Regions from separate parts of the Homo sapiens genome. Here region 1 is linked to region 2. Evidence: promoter capture Hi-C in 16 types of primary human blood cells and fetal thymus (Javierre and others, 2016). All regions are on one chromosome and are shown on one strand. Each heading gives the region's core, a stretch centred on a gene start or on the middle of the fragment in contact. The rest is flanking DNA. Distances are from core to core; before and after follow the strand shown. Region 1 has its middle 7.4 kb from the start of LINC02683. Region 2 holds the start of PTH (parathyroid hormone).

Region 1 (3,053 bases), core at 409-2,908, 420 kb before region 2:
TTGCTGTGGAAACTAACTTGGAAAATGACTTTCTTTTCTCCTTTATATAAATGTACAAGTCATATCTCATGGCTAAGTGGTCTATGAGTACTTACATAATGACACTGAAAGCCTCAAGCCTGCTCCCAAGGCGTTCTGTGGCAGTCAGCAATGCAGACCATGGAACACGTTCCCTGTGCCATTCTAGCATATAATCTTTCTCACTTTGATGCCCAGTTGCTGGGTTAAATATTGTTTTCAGTCTATCCTACAATAAAATTATTGCACTTCAGTGGATTTCTGTTTGGAGATTTTAAATATTTTAAAACCACACAATATAACAATTTTCAAAAGAAAAAACACTTATCTATTATTTTTAAAAGCTCCTTTCAAAAGCCTGTATTCTGTCCTAGTACTTGGGATCAGCCCACATGGAAAGCTTCTCTAAAGATTCTATAGGAATATTTTACATTTCTTCCTATGTATTCCTACAAGAAAGGTGCTAAAATAATAGCACAATACCTTGCATTTGTGATATTTTCTTCTGACCAATTATCTTACTAGAAGAAACCTGTGGGAATTTTATTACTTTTCTCACCTTTGTGGACCAAAGACTATTTTCATGTATGAAGACTTCCACGTCCTGTCTGATCTCTGGGGTCCTATAACTTGACTTTTACCATGTTGATAACTTTCTTGGCTTTCAATCTAAACTGCAGTGTCAGCCCAAATATCCTTACCCAAAGATTGCAAAAATGGGAGGGAGGGTTCTAATTTTAACCTGTGTAGGATACTTCATACTAGCATTTTTAAGGAGGCTTCATGACAGTATTCAAGATTTCTTCATGTGCTTTACACACAGCAGGGATGCCTCGTGTAATAAATGTATAACCCACATGTAAGCTGATTTGGCAAAGGGTCCCAGATGTTACACAAATAGGCCTCCTGAGGCCGGGAACTGGGAAATGCCTATGGTTGTTTCATCATTCAGCTGTGGAGAAAACAGTGTGAAAGGAAAATTAAAATCTCAGGACCCTCAAACTCACTATGCCAAAGGGAAAGGTCAAACTTGGGGACTGAGTCAATCCAAACTTCCCCCCATTTTGTTCTTAAATAGATAGTTACAAAGATAAAAGGCTACATACCTCCCTCACAATTTGCTCACAAGGCAATTCCTTGTGGGCCCCAAGATCTTTACCCTAAATCAGTTCTGTTGAATTTCACCTTGACAATGTAAATTAACAGCTTATCTTCACGGATATAGAACCAAGGACAGAACCAGAAGTCATCTCTCCATTCACCTGAGATGAATGCATGTTTGACTGCTTCCTCTACTCTATGTTTACTTCATCTTATGTAACAATGCAGATTCACAGAGCATGAGATGAATGCATAACTGACTCTTCCTCGATCCCCTCCTTTTACATGTAAAACATGGATTCAGTGAAGGCTGATCAAAGACTCAAAACAATGACACTGCTTCCCCCTTTTATCTAACCTTCTCCTTCTTTTTTCACTTCTCTTTCCCCTACTGCCCACTCTTTCCCCTTTAAAAGCTGAAGTTCCCAAACCCTCTTTGGAAAAAGCACAGATCACAGATGTTCCTGTGGTTTTGTGTTCCTTTTTCTTAGGTATGTCCTCAACCTTGGCAAAATAAACCTCTGAAATGATTGTGACTCACTTCAGTCATTCTCATTGATTTGCATCAGAAAAGATAAAATTTAACTCATGGGGTTGTTAAAAAGATGAATTAGACGTGCATATGGATAATGTAGGGTTCCTTGGGGTTTTGTCTTTTTGTCTTTGCATGCTCTACACTAGCCCTGGATGACCTCATCTGCACATGTTTGGGATATGCACACACAACACATACACACGCACACACACTCTTTGTTTTGTGTGGGTGTGTGTATTGTGTGTGTATCCCAAATATGCACAGTTCAGATTTTACCCAGGGGTTTAAGATGCACACACTCAACTGTATAGTTTGGATTTTCCAGTCACCTTGAGCACAATATATGCAAAACTAAACTCACCCTCGGCCTTACCAAATCAGCTTCTCTTCCTTCATCTCCATTTTGGTAAGTGGCACTGCCATCTAAGCCAGAAACCTGGAACCCTCAATTCCCTTCACACTCTTTGCCCACCCTTTATTTCCAATCACTCCCTAAGCCCTGCTGATTCTAAATCCAAATATAACTGGAACCCACTTGCTTATCTCCATCTTTTCCCACTGCCTTGGTAAAAGCCTCCAGTCTTTTTCACCTGAGCTACTGAAGCAGCTTCTGGTCAGGCCTCTTGCCTACAGCCTTGCTCTTCAATTTAGTCTTCATGACTGATTGAGTCCTCTCGCTAAAGCACACATCTTCTCTCCTTTAAACCCTTTTATGGCCTCCTATTCTCACCTGAACAAAGTCCAAGCTAATTATGATCCTCTTGATCCATTTTCCCCCCACATTCCACATTCACCCACACTGAGTATCTTTTAGTGTCTCAAACACGCCATTACTTTTCATCTTCAGGTCTTTGCCCTGGAGCTGATAGGGTCAAGACCAGGAGTTATTAAATTACAAATAGAGAAAACCCTAGGATTTCTCCTCTGTTTTTTATAGTGAGATGTTTTCATTCACCTCTCTCTTAAACTCCAGACACGTATTTTCAACTGTTATGCAGACATCTTCATTTGGATGTTTAATAGACATCTCAAAATTTACCACATCTCATACCTTAAGGTAATAAAAGCCATCTGTGACAAGCCAACCTTATACTGAAAGAGGAAAAGTTGAAAGCATTCCCCCTGAGAACTGGAACAAGACAAAAGGGCTACTGTTGGCTAATGATATGATCGTATACCTAGAAAACCCTAAAGACTCAACCTAAAACCTCCTAGAACTGGTAAATGAATTCAGCAAAGCTTTCAGGATACAAAATCAATGTACGCACATCAATAGCTCTGCTATACACCAACTGAGACCAAGCTGAGAATCAAATCACGAACTGAACCCCTTTCACAATACTTGCAAGAAAAATAAAATACTTAGGAATACACCTAACCAAAGATGTGAAAGACCTCT
Region 2 (3,065 bases), core at 563-3,062:
ACATGTAGAGTTTGCATCAGAAGAGGTCTTTAAAAAGATCAAGACAACAGATTTTTACAGTTAAAAGAGACCTCTTGGTTATCTAGTTCAACTTTCTTCTATGTATGAATCTCTATAGTATGCCTGATAAATGCTCATCTACCTTCTACTTGAATATTCTCAGTGATGGAGAAATCACTATTTGAGAAGGTACTTGATTCCTTATTTTGACAATTATAATGTCCAAGTTAAACCCAATGAACCCAGCCCTTCCTTCTTAAACCACAGAGAATACTCCTTCTTCCTTATGGTAACCCTATAAATAATTAAACACAGCTATAAAGTCATCCCGTCTTTTTTTCCTCAGACTTTTCTAGTTTCATTCAACTACTTCTCATGTTATAGTTTTCAACATTTTCACCAAACTGATTGATATCCTCAGTGTATGTTCCCATTTGTTTCTACTGCTTCTAAAATGGAGCCTGGAGCAACACTCTAAGTGAGGTTAACCCAGAGTGGAGAATCTCCTAGGACAGGACTAGTATATATCTCTCATTATAAACTCCATACGGTTACTATTCAAATTTGTACTGGCTCTTACCTAAGGTAGAGTCAAACCTTGACAATGGCTAGTAGGAAAAAGGATGACATGAAGCCAGGATGGGACCAGAGCTGAGAGAACTGATCCCACTCTGGCACCGGATCTTTGGTGGGAAGGCAAAGCTGTCTAAAGGAGTCCTAGATATATCAAAGACATTCAGGGTGTTTTGACAGGTGGACCAGGAAAATATTGCTGGAGGAATATTTGAAGTCAGACATGTGGCAGCATCATGCCTCCAATAGGTTTTGGAGCAGGCTCTCATCATCCCTTAGGGAACATGAGAATAAAGACCTAACCCCTAGGGGAAAATGTTGCAAAGAGCTTTTGCTGTGTTTTCAGATGACTTTGCAAATTAAAGTCAAGAAGACTGGAGTTCAAAGAAGGGCTGTATTTCTAGGCAGAAACTGAGGTAGTAAGAATCTGGTGTCATAAAGACCTTTGTTGAATTCCATCTTTTCTGCTTTCCAAGCCTAAGTTTCCTCATGTAAAAATGGGGATAAGCACTTAACTTTAGTACTTTAAGTACTAACTTTAAAGGACTGCTGTGAAGATCTAGTGGGATAATATATGTAGTTAGGCATGCAGTTAGTGCTTATCAAATGTTATTATTATAGATTAAGATGCACAAATAAAATATAAGTTAAATAAATTTTAAAATAATTTCACTTTTGAAGCTTTTAAAGTAATTATGTACTAAGAGCATTTTCTCAAATTATTCTTAACACTTCCTTTAAGAAAAGGGCTATATCTGTTTTTTGAAAGATGACCAGAAGTGACATGGATTGGTTGAAAATGGCTTGTAAAGTAAGCCTAACATTTATGATTTATTACCATAAAAACTGTACCAACAGTACGGTTATAACAAATACACTTATTTTTGGGTTTTATTTTCAAGTAAGATAATGACTTTATCATAAACCTTTGAAATCAGTCTTTTTACAGTATAAATTCAGATTCATTAATCCACATAGAATTTTTCTCGATGGTATAATTCTGTATTTGTTAAAAGTCTTTGCATAAGCCCCTTGTCAAGCCAAATGCTGTTTTCCTTTTAGTATCCAATTATCTGAAACTTAAGAAGAGTGTGCACCGCCCAATGGGTGTGTGTATGTGCTGCTTTGAACCTATAGTTGAGATCCAGAGAATTGGGAGTGACATCATCTGTAACAATAAAAGAGCCTCTCTTGGTAAGCAGAAGACCTATATATAAAAGTCACCATTTAAGGGGTCTGCAGTCCAATTCATCAGTTGTCTTTAGTTTACTCAGCATCAGCTACTAACATACCTGAACGAAGATCTTGTTCTAAGACATTGTATGGTAAGTAAACTTAAAAATTCACTTCTGAATCTCATGAGATTTTGATAATCAAGTTATTATTTAATGTGTACCATTTCTACAAATACCATGTTGTTTCTTCAAGGTAAAATGCTAAGAAGTTTGAGTTATGTTTAATATAAAATGCCACATACAAAATAAATTAATGCTACTCAAATCACAAAATCCTTTTTGATTAAAGTCTTCTGAGATACCTTGCCTTTTAAAACCTCATCTGAAATTACAACAAAAAATCATTAAAATTTGGCATGCTATGCTTTAATATAATAGTATCGGTGTCAAAATTTTGAAATAAAACAGGTTGATGGTGAATGAATAGTTCTGATTTAAATAATCTTTATAAATTTATTAAGTGGAGTTAATATTCTGTTTTTCCTGCAGAGTATTCTTATCTAGATTATTTATTTTATGGCTCATAAAGAGCCCAATCTGTATACTAAAGTTGGATAAGCCCAGTTTGACTAGTAAATATTTATTTCCTTTACATAAATGACAGCTGTATTCTGAAAACAGTATTTCCTATGCTATTTCTAAATGATGCAGTTTCCCTGTAAAATAGGAGTACATAACTACTCTATGTGTATGTTAAAAGGTAGTACACTGAGCATTAAGGAAAAGCACTTCTATAATAACAGCCTTTGCAAGTACTGAAATGCAGATTAAGGCAAGAATATCCTATACTGATGTGAAACGAGGAAAGAGACAAAAGTTATATTAAAAGATAATTGTTAATAAAATAAGTTGAAGAAATAAGCTACAAACAAGCATTCCATTCAGAGATAAAGCTCGAAATCCATATCACAAGTAATTAATCAGATGATTTTTAAATGCTTTGACACATTATTTTTAATGCTAGGAGAAATGTGAATTAATTTAGTGAAAATCTCTAGATTAGCACCTATTAGTTTGGTATTTATGGTTATTACAATGCCTGAAATGAAGGTTACTTAAGAAAAGGATTTGCTACGTAAATAGTGTTAACAATTTACACTATGAAGAAAATTAGGCATTTTCAAGCAAGTTATAAACATTTAGGTATAATCAACATAAAATGCAGTGCGGGGGGATTTCTCAAAAATAGGCTCTTTCATTCCTCTTGTAGCTTAAGATTTCTGCAGTGTGACAGAAGGGAGCATGAGAAGCATGGCT

Evidence for each region. The method cuts DNA at HindIII sites, captures the fragments that hold promoters and counts their contacts. A CHiCAGO score of 5 or more calls a contact.
Region 1: a fragment that was not itself captured here is called in contact with the fragment with the promoter of PTH in region 2 in 1 of 17 cell types (neutrophils); the score reaches 5.8 in neutrophils.

Annotation. Positions count from the first base shown.
Region 1 is chr11:13,915,938-13,918,990 of GRCh38, reverse strand. No RefSeq gene overlaps it. Among named protein-coding and RNA genes, the nearest start is that of LINC02683, 7.4 kb to the left of the region's middle. The HindIII fragment of the contact is 2,475 bases long and covers 421-2,895 here.
Region 2 is chr11:13,494,744-13,497,808 of GRCh38, reverse strand. It overlaps PTH (parathyroid hormone), which reads left to right and starts at 1,812. Exons shown (of 3, transcript NM_000315.4): 1 at 1,812-1,898. RefSeq lists an enhancer at 1,417-1,438 and promoters at 1,653-1,815, 808-1,867, 1,129-1,879. The HindIII fragment of the contact is 1,846 bases long and covers 1,257-3,065 here.